Linked DNA regions of Homo sapiens: regions 1, 2, 3, 4 and 5 are each linked to region 6. Evidence: promoter capture Hi-C in 16 types of primary human blood cells and fetal thymus (Javierre and others, 2016). All regions are on one chromosome and are shown on one strand. Each heading gives the region's core, a stretch centred on a gene start or on the middle of the fragment in contact. The rest is flanking DNA. Distances are from core to core; before and after follow the strand shown. Region 1 has its middle 160 kb from the start of MIR1973. Region 2 has its middle 120 kb from the start of MIR1973. Region 3 has its middle 240 kb from the start of MIR1973. Region 4 has its middle 73 kb from the start of MIR1973. Region 5 has its middle 35 kb from the start of MIR1973. Region 6 holds the start of NDST3 (N-deacetylase and N-sulfotransferase 3).

The links. The method cuts DNA at HindIII sites, captures the fragments that hold promoters and counts their contacts. A CHiCAGO score of 5 or more calls a contact.
Region 1: a contact is called between a fragment that was not itself captured here and the fragment with the promoter of NDST3 in region 6, in 1 of 17 cell types (M2 macrophages). The highest score is 5.6, in M2 macrophages.
Region 2: a fragment that was not itself captured here is called in contact with the fragment with the promoter of NDST3 in region 6 in 1 of 17 cell types (megakaryocytes); the score reaches 11.6 in megakaryocytes.
Region 3: a contact is called between a fragment that was not itself captured here and the fragment with the promoter of NDST3 in region 6, in 3 of 17 cell types (megakaryocytes, M0 macrophages and M1 macrophages). The highest score is 9.3, in megakaryocytes.
Region 4: a fragment that was not itself captured here is called in contact with the fragment with the promoter of NDST3 in region 6 in 1 of 17 cell types (M2 macrophages); the score reaches 7.2 in M2 macrophages.
Region 5: a contact is called between a fragment that was not itself captured here and the fragment with the promoter of NDST3 in region 6, in 1 of 17 cell types (M0 macrophages). The highest score is 7.0, in M0 macrophages.

Annotation. Positions count from the first base shown.
Region 1 is chr4:116,134,293-116,136,992 of GRCh38, reverse strand. No RefSeq gene overlaps it. Among named protein-coding and RNA genes, the nearest start is that of MIR1973, 160 kb to the left of the region's middle. The HindIII fragment of the contact is 1,053 bases long and covers 893-1,945 here.
Region 2 is chr4:116,178,264-116,180,963 of GRCh38, reverse strand. No RefSeq gene overlaps it. Among named protein-coding and RNA genes, the nearest start is that of MIR1973, 120 kb to the left of the region's middle. The HindIII fragment of the contact is 6,350 bases long and covers 1-2,700 here.
Region 3 is chr4:116,058,089-116,060,788 of GRCh38, reverse strand. No RefSeq gene overlaps it. Among named protein-coding and RNA genes, the nearest start is that of MIR1973, 240 kb to the left of the region's middle. The HindIII fragment of the contact is 2,410 bases long and covers 205-2,614 here.
Region 4 is chr4:116,371,295-116,374,025 of GRCh38, reverse strand. No RefSeq gene overlaps it. Among named protein-coding and RNA genes, the nearest start is that of MIR1973, 73 kb to the right of the region's middle. The HindIII fragment of the contact is 7,978 bases long and covers 1-2,731 here.
Region 5 is chr4:116,333,442-116,336,141 of GRCh38, reverse strand. No RefSeq gene overlaps it. Among named protein-coding and RNA genes, the nearest start is that of MIR1973, 35 kb to the right of the region's middle. The HindIII fragment of the contact is 2,022 bases long and covers 420-2,441 here.
Region 6 is chr4:118,033,132-118,035,831 of GRCh38, reverse strand. NDST3 (N-deacetylase and N-sulfotransferase 3) reads right to left here and starts at 1,346. Exons shown (of 14, transcript NM_004784.3): 1 at 1,240-1,346. The HindIII fragment of the contact is 5,573 bases long and covers 1,036-2,700 here.

The DNA.
Region 1 (2,700 bases), core at 170-2,669, 1.9 Mb after region 6:
CTAAACCAAGAACCTATTCTTATAACCTTCCTTAGGTTTTGTGGACTCTAAATAGTACATTAATTTTTGTTTTGTTTTGTTTTGTTTTGTTTTGTTGGGTTTTTTCTTTTTTTTTTTCTTTTTTTTTTTTGAGACGGAGTCTCGCTCTCTCGCCAGGCTGTAGTGCAGTGGCGTGATCTTGGCTCACTGCAACCTCCGCTTCCCGGGTTCAAGCGATTCTCTTGCTTTGGCCTCTCGAGTAGCTGGTACTACAGGCGCCCGCCACCACACCCAGCTAATTTTTGTATTTTTAGTAGAGACAGGGTTTCACCATGTTGGCCAGTATGGTCTCGGTCTCTTGACCTGGTGATTCGTCCGCCTCAGCCTCCCAAAGTGCTGGGATTGCAGGCGTGAGCCACTGCACCAGGCCTTTTGTTTCTTATATTAGCTAGTTTCAATCCATGGGTTGATGAATGAAAGTGCTGAAGTTCAGAATATTTCCAGGGTCCTTGTATAAAAATTAGATGATTGTTTGAAATAAACTTGCCCTGCAATATATATATATATATATCAATCTGAAATAAGATATTTTTTATAAATTTCTTAGAGAGAAAAACAATTTTGTCCTAAATTTCTAAAAGTTTTATCTAAAGTGTTAGGTTACTGTTTGTATCACTTATAAAATATTTTAGCTAATAAATACTTTTTAAAACCATATTTAATTTCTCATAATTATGAAAATATTATATACGTAGACTATTTTTATTTGCTTAATTTATCAAATTGTGTTTATTATTCCAATGCCTTTTTGATAGGCACATTATTTACATTAATACTTCTTAGATAAAATTCTTTTAGGGACAGTACTTGAGTTGGATTAATATATTTCTCTTAAAAGATCCAATATTAAGCTTTCATCTTAAGAATGTTACCTAGGTTGCATAATTTTAAAGAAAGAGGTTTTATCATAGGAAAACACTGATTAATAAAATATAGATCAACATTATTTCTAGTACTATGACTTCAAATTATAAATACATATATTACCATTTTCTGTTAAAAATACTAAATACTAAATACAATAATTTAAAGTTAATGGCAGGACTGAAAACTGTTCTTGCTCAAACACCAGAAAACAAAAATGTATGTAACTTAGAAATGAATACTGCCCACAGGAGGTAGATGAATAACATGGATTATTGGATAAAAGTCAGACAGAGGAAATGAAGTAACAGCAGAATAGTAACCACTATTATCTATTAAGCCATAGTTTATTCTACATTAGAAATGGGTTCATAGAGCAATTTTGCTCAATATGAAAATTCAGTAATGAAAAATCACTGATAGTCTTTAGATTCCAGAATATAAAAGAGACATAGTTTTTCTTTTAGGATATTTTATAATTCAATAAATATTGAAACATTTGAGAATGTGTATATATTTCTAACCCATACAGAGTCATGAAACAAAATAATAAATTTAAGTAATAAAACTTAAAAGTAAAAATTATGATAAAACGTGGGGTTTTCCAGAATTATCTAGTTATAATAAATAGGAAACTAGTACTAACATAAAAATATTAGAAAGGTTATATAATGGTACAGAATCTTAAATGAGAATAAAAAATGATTATGTTATTAATAAAATAGTGGTAAGTTAATATTTTTCGTTTCTGTGCACATACATTTAGAAAAATTGAGTGAAATCAGTCTTAAAGTAAAAATTTCAAAAATATATAGCAGAAAAATTAAACATGTTATTTTATATAAGATAATCTGTAAGGCTTTAAGTAAATGTACCCCCTCCAGAAACCAAACATGGAAGATCCCAATACAGCTCAATGAACTTTTCTATAACAGATGATTCCAGTTATTTAAATTCAGACAGAGCATAGGGACACACTTGGTTCATGAGAAGAGTATACTAGTGATTTTAAATTTATATAATGAAGGAAAACATAGAAGCTTATGGGCCAATATTATTCTTAAAGATCAACCCAAAATACCACATAGGAAAAAAAGATGTCTCACTCACTGTTACCTATCATGATCATATAGAGGTGTCAGAACTTTCTTTTTTACACCGCCAACATTTGGGATTTATGAATTATATTTTAATTAATGAGGTTCATGTGTGTCTGGGCTTCCGGAAAGAGTAAATTCTTATCCATGTTTAGTGATAGAGATTAACCAAAATTAAAACAACAAAACACATGTAAATCTTGCAGTCTTTGCTGTAAACTTTAAAATAGTAACTAAGTTATTTTTCTGTAAATATAGTAAAATCTTAAAATTTCAAACATATTTAAGAAAATAATGCCTAATTATTATTTGGATTTAATATATACCATGTTTATAATAAAAGCTCAGAAGTCATAAAGCAGAGAAAAAAATTCCATTATCTTATATAAAGGGTGATATAAAAATGTACAATGATTCTGAGGATTATTCATACTATTGTAAATTATACATAGGAATATAAATTGAAGTCTGATTTAAAGAATAGGTGATGGTATTTGAATAAATTCCAGATGCTATCTAGTTCAAATGTTGCTAACATTTCCCATCCTCAATAAATGCTAAATTATACTACATGAACTTCTTCTACAACATCCTTGATTGATACTTGTAAGGCTTTTGACTTGCCCAATTCCTGGCTGAACTACCTCATTGGCATCTATCAGATTGTCTTTTCTTTAGCTATCTCCTTAGGTTCTCTCCT
Region 2 (2,700 bases), core at 109-2,608, 1.9 Mb after region 6:
TATATTGAGGGTAAGAATGATTACACAAATTCAAGTATTAAGAGAAAGTTAGCATCTGGACATGAATAAAAAATGATTTAAAACTATAAGCAGCATGTTTAATTTATTAAGCCTTACTGGCTGCAAATGTTATATTGCATTTCTATTGGCCTTACAAAAACAATTGTAAGATAATGCCTCCAAATTAGTTACAATTTCCAGAATAACATAGCCAACTGAAAAAATAAGCAAACGAAGGAAGTAATATAACCCCTGCAATACTGCACAGTGAAATAGAAAAGGTGAACTGTCTGCCAGAGTCAAATGGGGAGCTAAAATAACAGAGGAATGTTCTACAGAAAAGTCACAGGATTTGGTAAAAGATTGCTTAAGGACTGTTTTAAGCCATGGGCTATCTGTCTCCAGAATCCTGGTAACAGAAAATACTTGACTATAGAATGTAAACAGTCTACTGTTTGGAGTGTGAGAAGAGCAAATGACTGTAACTCTTCGGGAGGAGGAAGACAGGAAAAGCAAGCAATAATATCTATTCATATTCCTAGGCAGTCTTGCTGTTTCTGAAATACTGAGAAAAATGTAGAAGGGGTACAATATGTTCATAAAATATATCTTTATTAATTATACCACCACAAAAGAGAAAGTAGTGATGCATCTTTTACCCCAATCATGAAAAAACAAAACAAAAAACAAGAATATCTGTTGCAAGGGCACCATCTGCTGGAAGATCAGTAAACAAACATAAACCAGCTCAGAGGACAGTGATCTGTTCACAAAATTATAATGCCAATGTCCTCCATCTAATCGAAACTGCAGGCTATTAAAATATATATGTAAATGTTTAATGATCCTCTGAGGAAGAAATAATAACAAGACAGCTCATTGCATAATGAGAAAGTATAATAAAATCTATGAAGTAATGAGATTGAGTCTCTTGTTAGATACTTTAGTTGCAATTTGCTTTCCGAAGAATGATATTTTTACACAAAATAAACATACATACTAATACAACTGACTATAATATTGTATCTAATTGTATCTCAACAAATATGTTTGACAGTCTATACAAACTTTGGTAATTAAATTTCTATTTTGTGGTACAAAATGGGCTGTATACTCTTTCATAACAGATTTTACACATATTTTCTTTGATTATATACATACATATAGAGATAGAGAGAAAAGTAATTTTAAAAAAATGTAATCAGACACAGGATTATATTTCTAGATTTTCATAATTTTATCTCATAAGGTTTTGCAAGCTCTCATTTTTCATTCCTTTCACAGCCTTGCTGACACCCATACATCTAAATTTTGTTTCCTCCTTATATCCAGAATTGAACTATTCAAGGATAATTTTTCCCATAATATTGGCTTTCTAGTGTTTAGATATGCTTCTCCCACCTGTAGTTAAAATAATGGTTCCACTTCCTGTTTTCAACCCTCTGAAATCTTCACTTTTTATTTCCAGATCTGGGTAGTCTTTCCTCCCATGCAAGCCCCTATGTGTCCCTCCTATCACACTCTCTTTCATCTACCACACACTTTACATTCTGACCTATAAAAAAGGAAGGAAATCATTCGTCAGAATTTCCCTTGAGTATAGAAATATTGTATTTATTTATTTGTTTAATTTATTTGTTTTTGAGACAGGATTTTGCTCTTCTTGCCCAGGCTGTGCAATCCAGGTTGTGCAGTGGCATGATCACAGCTCATTGCAGCCTCAGCACAGCTCATTGCAGCCTCGGCCTCATGGGATCAAACGATCCTCCACTACAGCCTCCCAAGTGGCTGGGACCAAATGCATGTGCCACATGCTTAGATATGGTTTTTTTTCTTTCTTTCTTTCTTTTCTTTTTTTTTTTAAGAGACAAAGTCTCCCTATGTTGCACAGGCTACTTTTGAACTGCTGAGCTCAAGGAATCCTCCTGCCTCAGCTTCCTAAATTGCTGGGATTACAGGTGTGAGCCAGCACACCTAGCCATTTTGTGTTTAGAACAAATATTCAATAAGTTCAGTATTTTGGAGGTGAAGACACAGAGAATACGCACCACTAAACATTATTAAAAATGTGCTTTCTAAAACATGTGGACACTGTTGTTTATATGATTATTTGGTTTTGCTGACCAACAATATGAGCCTTTGGATATGCATTATAAGAAACAAGAGCAGAGTTAAACTTATTTTTAAAAAGTATTTCTTTTTAGAGATAGGATCTCACTCTGTTGCCCAGGCTGGAGTGCGGTGGCATAATCACAGCTCACTGCAGCTTCAAACTGCCTGGGCTCAAGCAGTCCTCCCACCTCAGCCTCCCAAGTGGCTGTGACTACAGGCATGTGCCACAATGCCCAGTTGAGTTCAACTTATTTTTAAAGTACAGCAGAGCAAAGCCTGTCTTAGACGCTGTATGACCATGAAGGGATTTTGGAAAAGATAAATAACTACTACTAATTTTGGAATTTATCTGCTGTAGAGAGGGCTATATTAAAACAAACAAACAAACAAACAAAAAACACCTCCTTTCTCTTTGCTATGTAATCTATCTTTCTTTCTTTCTTTTTTTTTTTTTTTTTGAGACGGAGTCCGCTCTGTTGCCCAGGCTTGAGTGCAGTGGCGTGATTTCAGCTCACTGCAAGCTCCACCTCCCAGGTTACGCCATTCTCCTGCCTCAGCCTCCTGAGTAGCTGGGACTACAGGCGCCTG
Region 3 (2,700 bases), core at 160-2,659, 2.0 Mb after region 6:
TTATTTTAATGTTTCAACCTAGAAACTCCTGAGGCAAGAAGTCAGGATCAGAGCATTTTTGCTATGATCCTCAACTAATCCTTAGGGTGATTCTAAAAGAATCATTTTAAACATTTTCCAACACTAAAAATTTTATTGACCTCAGCAGATCATCTAAAAATATAACAAGTATGTGCAGGATCATCGTTACTTGGATCATAAGCTTGTTCTTTTTTTGTTTCCCTTAGCCTAGTTGTTTCAGGTTGAATCCTTCAAACATCAGTTGATAATTGACTACTCATTCAGTGGCCAAGGCACAATATTGCTACTTTTATGGTGTGTGTATGTACATGTGTGCGTATGTGTGTGCTTGTTGTATATATGCCTCCGTGTGATCACTGACTTCTGGAATTCACATTAGGATAAATGAATGGTAAAACTAATTGCTTCTAATAGCCCTTCCCTGAACATACCTACTACAGTCTCAGAGTGCCCACCAAATCTCATCTCAAATTATAATCCTGATAATCCCCATGTGTCAAGGGAGAGACCTGATGGGAGCTGATTGGATCATGGGGGTGGTTTCACCTATGCTGTTCTCATGATAGTGAGTGAGTTCTCATGGGATCTGATGGTATTACAAGGGGCTCTTCCCCTTTGGTCTCTCTCTCCTGCCACCATGTAAAAAAGGTGCTCGCCTTCTCTTCACCTTCCACCATGACTGTAAGTTTCCTGAGGCCTCCCCAGTCATAGAAAACTGTGAGTCAATCAAACAGTTTGGAGGGCTCAGAAGAAGACAAGAAGATAAAGGAAACTTTGCAATCTCTTAGAGACTTATTGTATGGATTTGACCAAAGTGCTGATAGTGATGTGGGCAATGAAGTTCAGAATGAGGTGGCCTCAGATGGTAATGAGGAACTTATTGGGAACTGGAGCAAAGGTTACCCTTGCTATGCTTTAGCAAAGGAACTGGTGGTATTCTACCCCTGTCAACAGCGGAAAAGGTCTGTGGAAGTTTAAACCAGAGAGGGATGATTTAAGGTATCCGATGGAAGAAATTCCTAAACAGTAAAGTGTTCAAGAGGTCACCTGGCTTTTTCTAAAAGTATAGAGTCATAAGCATTCACAAAGACATAATTTGAAATGGAAACTTATATTTAAAAGGGAAACAGAGCATAAAGCCTTGGAAAATTTACTGCCAGATCATGTGATGGAAAAGGAAAACCCATTTTCTGGGGAGAAATTCAAGCCAGCTGCAGAAATTTACGTAAGTAAGGAGAAACCAAATGTTTACAGTCAAGATAATGAGAAAAATGTCTCCAGGGTTTTCTTACATCTGCATGGCAGCCCCTCCCATCACATGCTTGGAAGTCTAGGAAAAATGGTTTGGTGGGCTAGGCCCAGGGCCCTGCTGCTCTGTGCAGCCTCAGGATGTGGTGCTCTGGGTCCCAGCTGCTACAGCTCCAGCTATGGCTAAAAGGGGCCAGGGTAAGCTCAGGCCATTGCCCCAGTGTGTGTTAGCCCCAAGTTTCAGTGGCTTCCACATGGTGTTGGGCCTGACAGTATACAGAAGACAAGAGTTGAACTTTGAGAGTCTCTGCCTAGATTTCAGAGGATATATGGAAATTCCTAGGTGTCCAGGCAGAAGTCTGCTCAGGGGTGGAGCTCTCATGGAGGAGCTCTACTAGGCCAAGGCCAAGGAAGAATGTGGGGTTGGAGCCCCCACACAGAGTCCCCACTGGAGCACTGCCTGATGAAAAAAAGGCCACTGTCCTCCAGATCTCAGAATTGTAGATCCACCAACAGCTTGTGCCGTGTGCCTAGAAAAGCCACAGGCACTCACTCCAGCCTGTGAAAGCAGCTGCAGGGGCTGAACCCTGCAGAGCCACAGAGTTGAAGCTGCTCAAGGCGTTGGGAGCCTACCCCTTGCTTCAGCGTGCCCTGGATGTGAAACATGGAGTCGAAGGAGATTATTTTGGATCTTTAAGATTTAATCAGTGTCCTAACAGGCTTTGAATTTGCGTGGGTACTGTAGCTCCGTAGTTTTGGCCAATTTCTCCCATTTGTATTGGGAACATTTACCCAATGCTTGTACCCCCATTGTATCTTGGAAGTAACTAACCTGTTTTTTATTTTACAGGCTCATAGGTGGAAGGGACTTACCTTATCTTAGATGAGATTTTGTACTTAGACTTTTGAGCTAATTCTGGAATTAGATAAGATTTGGGAGACTGTTGGGAAGGCATTATTGGTTTTGAATTGTAAAAAGGATATGAGATTTGTGAGGGGCTATGGGCAGAATGATATGGCTTGGCTTTGTGTCCCCACCCAAATCTCATCTCAAATTGTAATCCTCACATGCTGAGGGAATAACCTGGTGGGAGACAATTGGATCATGGGGATGGTATCCCCCATGCTGTTCTCATGGTAGTGAGTGACTTCTTACCAGATCTGATGGTTTAAAAGTTTCACTTCCCTCTTCACCCGCTCTCTCTCTCCTGCTGCCATGTGAGGAACATGCTTGCTTCCCCTTCACCTTCCACCATGATTATAAGTTTCCTGAGACCTCCCTAGCCCTGTGGAACTGTTTCTTCATAATTTACTTTTATGAAGGTAACTTAACCTTCATAAAGCTTAAGTTAAATTAAACCTTTTTCTTCATAAGTTACCCAGTCTCAGGCAGTTCTTTATACCCATGTGAAAATGGACTAATACAATACC
Region 4 (2,731 bases), core at 159-2,658, 1.7 Mb after region 6:
CAAACATTTTGCCTTTCTATATTTCTAAAATATAATTGTTCTAATTTAGTAATTTTAAGGAATTATTGATATAATTGTTTCTCATTATCCATGGATTCCACATCCATAGATTCAATTAACCATGAATAGAAAGTATTCAAAGAAAAAGTGAATCTGTACTAAACATGTACAGGCTTTTTTTTTTTTGGTCTTTATTCCCTAAACAGTATAACGTAACAACAATTTATATTGCATTTACATTGTGTTAGGTATTATATGTAATCCAGAGATGATTTAAGTATATGAGAGGATGTGCACAAGTTATATGCAAATATTACACAATTTATATAAAGGGACTTGAACATCTGTGGATTTTGGTATCCACAGAAAATCCTTGAACCAATCAATCCCCCGTGGATACCAAGGGATTACTGTACTTAATAAATTATATGTTAATTAAAACTTTGTAGTAACCATTATAAAATATTATTTCTCCAATAGTAAAATATTAGCATATTAAAAATAACCCTACAATGACATCCACCTACCGTATTCAATATATGCTTTGAGGGCATGGAAACTAATTCATTATAAGCATGGAAAGAGAATTTCAATGTCTTATCCATTTGTTTTTCTTCTATTTGTATTTATTATAAATAAGGTTGATGTATTGCTTGCAGCTACTATTAATATTAAATATTTGATGGATTACATTAAGCTAACCCTCTCTGAATCCAATCATTCTTCTTCTGAGCAGTGTAGAAATGACTTACACTTTATTAGAGACAAAACAAAAGACAGGATGTAATTTGAGTGCAATTTTAAGGAAAAAAGTTCTACTTGTGGATCAAAATGTATACCTTTATTTTTCTCTTAAAGATTTTATTGGCTATTTATTGCTGTGCTTGAACTTAATATTTTATATTAATAGATATAGATGTTGAGGGGGCATACATTTAATGGGTATGTCTGTGAGAAGCAGTGGTTAATTATCTAGTTGAAGGTCTGTATATTTATACATGTTTTATCAAAATGTTTTATGTTCTATGAAGCATTTTCTTTCTGATTTCTGAAGAACTATACTCTGAACTACATTTTTAAATGAAACAAATTTAGAAGAGTTTCAAAACAGAAGAAAATGGAATTGGCTATATTATTATCAGACAAAAAAATAAGGATAAATATTTAATAGTGTTTTCAAAACCACTTTCTTGAGGTATGATTGGCATACAAAATACTGTGCATACTTAATAAGTATAACTTTATGAGTTTGGAGTTAATTATACAACCATAAGCCTGCAATCTATTGGAATAAAGCCAGTGATGATAAGAAATCACATCCCTTTTATTAAATCATATGTTAAGAACTTAAAAGTGAATAACAGGGTTTTCAGTTCTGGGCAAAAATTGATATAAATATACTTTAGCTGTCCCATTCAATGAATAAAACCATACAAAATTATTCAAAAGAAATATAGCAGCTATTTGAGAACTTTGAAAGTAGATAGCAGGTAGTAAATCACTAAAGAACACCGTGACTTAAAGCACCATTGAACGTGTAGTGATTTACCATTATTTTCCTCTCTGTATCCCTCAGCCTCAATTTAATGCAGTCAGAAATTTAGAAGTGACAGCAGTGGCACAAACAGACACCATGAAATCTCCTTAAGTTTTTCTTCTCTTTTCTCCCTTCTTTGAAAAAATAAGAAACTCTATATATAATTTTAAAATAAATGAATAAATTAATGAATTAATGAATGAATACATAAATAAATTTTTGGAAGGTGACCTAAAACATTAGATAGATACATAGATAAATATCTCAAAATGAATTGCTTACTTATACCTAAGCAATAAATAGTTAGCAATAGGAATGGGGGAATAATGCATTTAAAATAGTGTAAAAGTGTATAATAAGGACATAAAGGTATTTGATAAGAATGGAATGAGATATATAAGAAAAACACAAAATGACATAAAATTTATAAAATATTTTATGAAAATGTAGAAAGTATGCCATGCTATTAAGTGGAAAATTTAGTATCATCAGAATAAAAATTATTCAAAAATTATCTCTACAAATACTTTTATTTCAACATAATACTTTTAAAATGTTTTCAGCTAAATTAGCTAAAAATAAACATAAAAATGTATCACAGAAAAGGAAAATTTGCTCAGAACATACAAGTCATGGATATCAATTTAACATCATTTTGATGTGAAAACATTAATTCAACAGATACAACAAAGTTAAGAATCCAGAAATAAATACTACAGTAGATTACTCTAAATCGCAAGTTTTTCCATTAACATTACATCATGGGATTTACTTCAGGTTTGTATCTACAGACCACTTTATAATTACATCATAAAATGCCACACTATGGGTGTGTATTTTCATGGCTATAAATATTTCCAGAACACACACCTTGAAGAATTTTGTAGCACTTATGTTTCTACCAAAAGTGCTTTCTTTGAAGAAGTTGGAATCTAGAGCCAGAACTTCTAAATTCAAATCACAGCTCTCCCATATACTTGTTATGCAAACTGGAAGAAATTATTTTATCTATTTGTGCCCCAGTTTTATCATCTATAAATAGTAATGCCTAACTTTTGTTGGGACGCTTCAAGGACTAAATGACTTAATATTTATCAAGCATTTAAGAAAGTGTCTGAAACATAAAAACATTGTGTAAAGGAAAACTACATTAAGAAATGATGACATGACAAGGATGAAACAACTTATAATATG
Region 5 (2,700 bases), core at 181-2,680, 1.7 Mb after region 6:
ATCTAATGGAGTAATATTTCAAATATAATTTGAATACAGACTCCAATTCTGTGGGTTGTCTCTACTCTGTTGTTTTCCTTGCTGTGTAGAAACTTTTTAGTTTGATGTCATCCCATTTGTCTATTTTTGCTGTGTTTTCTATGCTTTCAGGACCATATAAAGGATTTGGCTTGCATGTTAATACATTTATATGCCTTTTCTCCTGTTAGTCTGTCTATTGTTCGTTCATTTCAATTACCTTCAAAGGGCAGAAGGGAATATAAACAATATATGTCCTGTTAGAAATAAATAAACAAAAATGGAGATAACAGTCTGAATACCCTAAAGTCAACCACCCATAGCCATGTAACCAAAACTTAAGTCATTCTGATTTCCCCAAAACACTAACCTTAAACATAAATAAAACACAAACATAAGCTTTTTTATCCTTATCAGCATGATTAAATGAAATTAAACCAACTAAACCAATCACTTATTAATGAATCAGATTAAACAGCTCTATTTACCTAAAAATATACATGGCAGTCAATCATTAAAAAGTCAAAATACTTTATCCTTTATGATTGGTAAGGTGTGCTATAATTGCTGTAATACAGTGACTTTGTGCCATTTTTTGATATGAAGTCTCCCAGTTTGTGAAGTGTTTTTTTTTTTGTATCCACAATAAACACTTAACATTCTAAGTTGATCATAAAGTGGGTTTTTTATATGCACAATAAACACTTAACATTCTAAGTTGATCTGATTTTATTTTTCACTATATATTATTGTGTATATTTATGCATATGTATACATAAATCTATGCAATTATATATAAAAATAATATCTAAATTAAAATGGTACCTCTTTTCTTTCTGCTTCTTCTAAAAGTTACATATACATGGTTGTCAAGAGGGCTGACAAGCTCTACTCTGTTGGTCCTAGATGACAGTATGATTTTTTGTGTGCTTCATCTTGGTGATGGTTTCCTTGAAATGATGCTCCTTCTATGTACCCAGCTCAAGAATTGGTGCTTAGACCCAAGACAATCAAATTTAAGTGCCTGCTTTGCTATCTTTCGCATTTAGTACCATTGTTTATTATCATTCCAGAAAATCTTCAGATTTTACATTCATTCCAGAGAGACTGAAGTTTTATATCAGGGATTAGCTGATGTCCCTGTGCCAATTTTGTTCTTCCTATGCCATTCCCTACATCCAAATGTAAGCTACCATCCATAGTCTGTAGGATTTTGTTTACTTGCCTTTGTCTCTGGGGGCTTGATTTTGGCCGTTTTGATAAGTGTTAAATCTGGCATGATAAATCTTAAGCAGGAGAATAATATAAACTATTTATGTTTAAAAATTCACCCTAGTTATTACGTGGAGTAAGGCTTGTAGCTTGGCAGCAGGGGGTCAGTTTAAAGCTATGGTAGTACTACAGGTAGGAGTTAATGTCAGCAGTGAAAATAAATGGATTTGAATTATATTTGATGGCAGGAATTGATGAAAGATGATCTATTAAGAGCAACTAGGAGGAATCAAGCGATTATTTGCAGATTTGGTTTTGCAGGTGCTAATTAAATGAGAAGAATATAGGAGAAACTAATTTGTGCAGTAGAGAGGAGACAAATATAATCAATTTTGCTTTTAATATATTAAGACTGAGATGCACATTAATGTAACATTTAGGAATTTGGAAGTGGGAAGTGAATTTCTTAGTATATTGTTTCGGGATGAGTTTAGAGATAGAGACAGGACTTTGATTGTAATTAGCATGTACATAATTGTGCTATGACTGACTTACTATAATATTTTTAATGACAAATGTTATAAAATTACTTGCTTGTTAGAAAAATTATCAAGAATAATTATCAAGAACGTGAATCAGTATGGTTGGGAATTTTTTTTTTTTTTGAGACAGAGTCTTGCTCTGTCACACAGGCTGGCGTGCAATGGCACTATCTCGGCTCACTGCAACCTCCGGGTTCAAGCAATTCTCCTGCCTCAGCCTCCTGAGTAGCTGGGATTACAGGCAGCTGCCACCACGCCTGGCTAATTTTTGCATTTTTAGTAGAGATGGAGTTTCACCATCGTGGCCAGGCTGGTCTTGAACTCCTAACCTCGTGATCCACCCGCCTCAGGAAAATATTTTAAAGCTATTCATCCACATATTTAGAAACAAGAAATTGGATATACATAAAACTAAAGATTCAATATGACAAGCATTATTTTTTCTTATATTTTATTATTTAACATGGTATTCAATGACCACGTTTGAAGAAATAAACTAAAGCAATAATTTTATATGCTTTTAAGCAAGATACTACACAGAAAAATGTGAAAGATTTATTTTAAGACAGGGAGATTTGCAATTATCTTCTATCTCCATATTGCAGCCTAATCTTTAAAAACTACTGAAGAAATGTCCAAAATAACAATGATTAAAAGGCAAAGGAAGCTTCCTCTCTTCCAAAAAACAGCACTATGTCTCAATGGATCACTCCATGCATATTAATTAATCATTTTACTGATTTTGGAGTTCCATTCATAGGTTGTTATAAAACATATTATGTGTAATTCTGCATAAAGTTTTTAAAATTTATGATCCTTTTTCCTTATTTTATACAAATACCTTATATTACCCCTGAATAACATTAGATCTACTTAGCAGAATTATCTTATCCCACATAGTTTAAGGATGATTACCCCAAGAATCAAT
Region 6 (2,700 bases), core at 97-2,596:
CTCATGTGACAAGCTCAAAATTAACATTATTTACACAAAGAAACAAATCTTCTGTTTTACCATCAAGATGATAAAGAAAAATGATAACAAAATTAGAAATGGTAGATACTGTGTTAACCAGAGAAAGAAAAAAAAGAGCTTATCTTAGGCAAGCCTCTTTATATGTTCAGTACTATTTTAAAAAGGAGCCTCCTTCAAACTTATATTTGAAATCTCCATCTTAAATATAATATTGATAGGAAGGTATGGATGAAGAAAAAGGGAAAAAAATTCCCTTCAGCTGAATATCGGATATTCTAGAGTTTCTCTGCCATATCATCCTGCTCTCTGGTGGTGAACAGCATTGCTCAGTAGTTGATAACATGAAATTTTCTAAGGGCAAAAAAAAAAAACAAAAAAAAAGTGTGTGTCCCAGATCAGTTGCACACATCTCAATATTTGATTTGTATTTTAATTTAATACAAATGTATTAAGAATGTAGCTGTTTGCATTGTCTAGAAGGGTTTTCTTCTAAACTCTTCCAGATTACATGTTGCTATATTTCAATATGTTTATAAAGAATATAGATACTAATACATTTTCGACATTAAATAACTCTGATGCTTAAACAGTATCCAGCTATTAGAAAAACTATTTGAAAAAGGATCTGAGTAAACCCCTTAAAGATGTAACTTTGCTTTTACCTGCCCCCACAAAATGGATATATTAAATAGAAGATATATCTGTTTTCTTTAAATTTAAAGTTTCTGTATTTGATACCTAGATTGATTCTTTCCATTTCCATTTAATTTTATTAATTGTATAGTTTTAAATAATGTCTATAAACTGCATCAAATAGAAAGCCTTTTGAGGATCATTACTGTGTAGATAGGCAGGTAGTTTAAAGTCTCTGATATTCCTTACAAAATTCTGTCAAGGCAACAGACATGTGTTCTGTTAAACAGATCTACTTCAGAATCATTATAAGTTGGTGAATATCTTAAACAATTACAAGAGGTCATTTCTTTAGTACCATAATCTTATGAAAGGGAAGCTTTAAAATCATCCCTGAATGAGACGGTCCTTTGTTTCACTTAATTTAATCAAAATACTCTATATTTCTTCTTCAAGAATAAAATGAAGCACTTGTTCAATCTTGAAATTTTTAGATTATTTGAAAGCAAAGTTGTTATCTCTTAAAAGCCCCTACATTTATGAGTGAGGCATTAATGCACAGTATAAATAAATAAATACACTTACCTGGAATTAAAGTTCAGAGCTGAAAATGCTTGAGAAAGTTGCAATAGATGGAAAAGAAACGGAAACAGTACCACTCGTTACCATCGGCTCAGGCTTTTTGACTTTACAAGTGGTAGCAACACCAGTCCTGGCCCAGTACTCTCATGTTATGTAACATCTTATTAATATTAGCCATCAAACTGCTACCAAGCTGGTGAGGCACTAGAGGGCAAGAGTGTCACATGCAAGACCCGTCGCCAAGGGACCGGCTTTGGTACCACTTCGGGGGAAGACAGATGCTAACTAAGCTGATGAATAACAGGATGCCCGAATACAACAGCAAACTTGTAACGTTCCTCAAAGAATATTTTACATGTCAATTTTCTGACTAGCGGAAGAGTTAACAGGTTAATAAATATGAGCAAGCAAATAACCACACCATGAAAAACTTTTAGGATTATATTTACAAACCCACAGTCACTCAAGAGGCTGTTTGTTTTTTTCTTTCCATTGTCTAAATAAACTTATTTAAAACAGGAGAAAAAAGCTGGTTAAATAAAACGAGTGTCGGTTTCAGGACTCCCTCATTCCAAGCCGCGAGAAACTTGTCTGGTCGAGATGCCGCCTCTGGAGTCCGCATTCCAAGGCGCCCGGATCGGGTTTCTGGGCGAGGAGACCGGCCCCGTCCTCCATGGAGATTACCTGGGGCTGCAGCCGTCCGCGGGCTCCTCCTTCCCTCGGGTCTTCGGCCTCAGCCGCTCCCCAGGGCCCCTCGTCCGGGTGGCGCTTGGGTGCTACGCGGTGCCCGGGGTCCGGCGGGGGCGACAAGCGGGCGACCTCTCCCCTCCGCGCCCGGGATCTGCGCGGACACAGCTGGTGGCGACTTCGGCCGCTCAGGCTGCGGCTGCGGGGCGAGCGCAGCGGGTGCGCCGGGGACTCCTGCGCTGGAGAACCACGGCCCTGGGACCCGCCCGGCCGCGCCTCCGCCGCCCTCGCCACCGCCTCCCGGGCGGGAGCCGCCGCCTCCCAGCTCCCGGCCCGCGCGCGCCCGCCCCGGGGAAGGGGAGGGAGCGGGAGCTGAGGACGGGAGCCGCCTCCATCGACCGGGCTCCCGCCCGGACCGGCCCTGAGGATCTGGCTGCCCGGGCCTCGACAAGGAGACCCCGGGGGTTCCGCCCCGGCCTGCCAGTTCCGACCGCCCCTCCCGGCGGGTTGGCGGCGGCCGCCAAGGATGAAACGTCTTGTGCGGCCAGGGAAAGGGGTGCGAGTCCCCGAGGCGACGCTGGAAGGGTGGGGCGCACCCGCGCGGTCCCTTCCTGTGGTGCTCCTGCCGTTGGCACTGGACCAGGGCGGCTGCGAGGCTGCAAGAGTTTCCTCTGTTCGCCAGTTTTTTTCAAATGCCATGTGTTTCAGCTCCTGAAGACAAGTGGAAGGCCAGCAACTGAAGAGATATTTTGGATTCAAGGTGTGAGGTTACCCTCT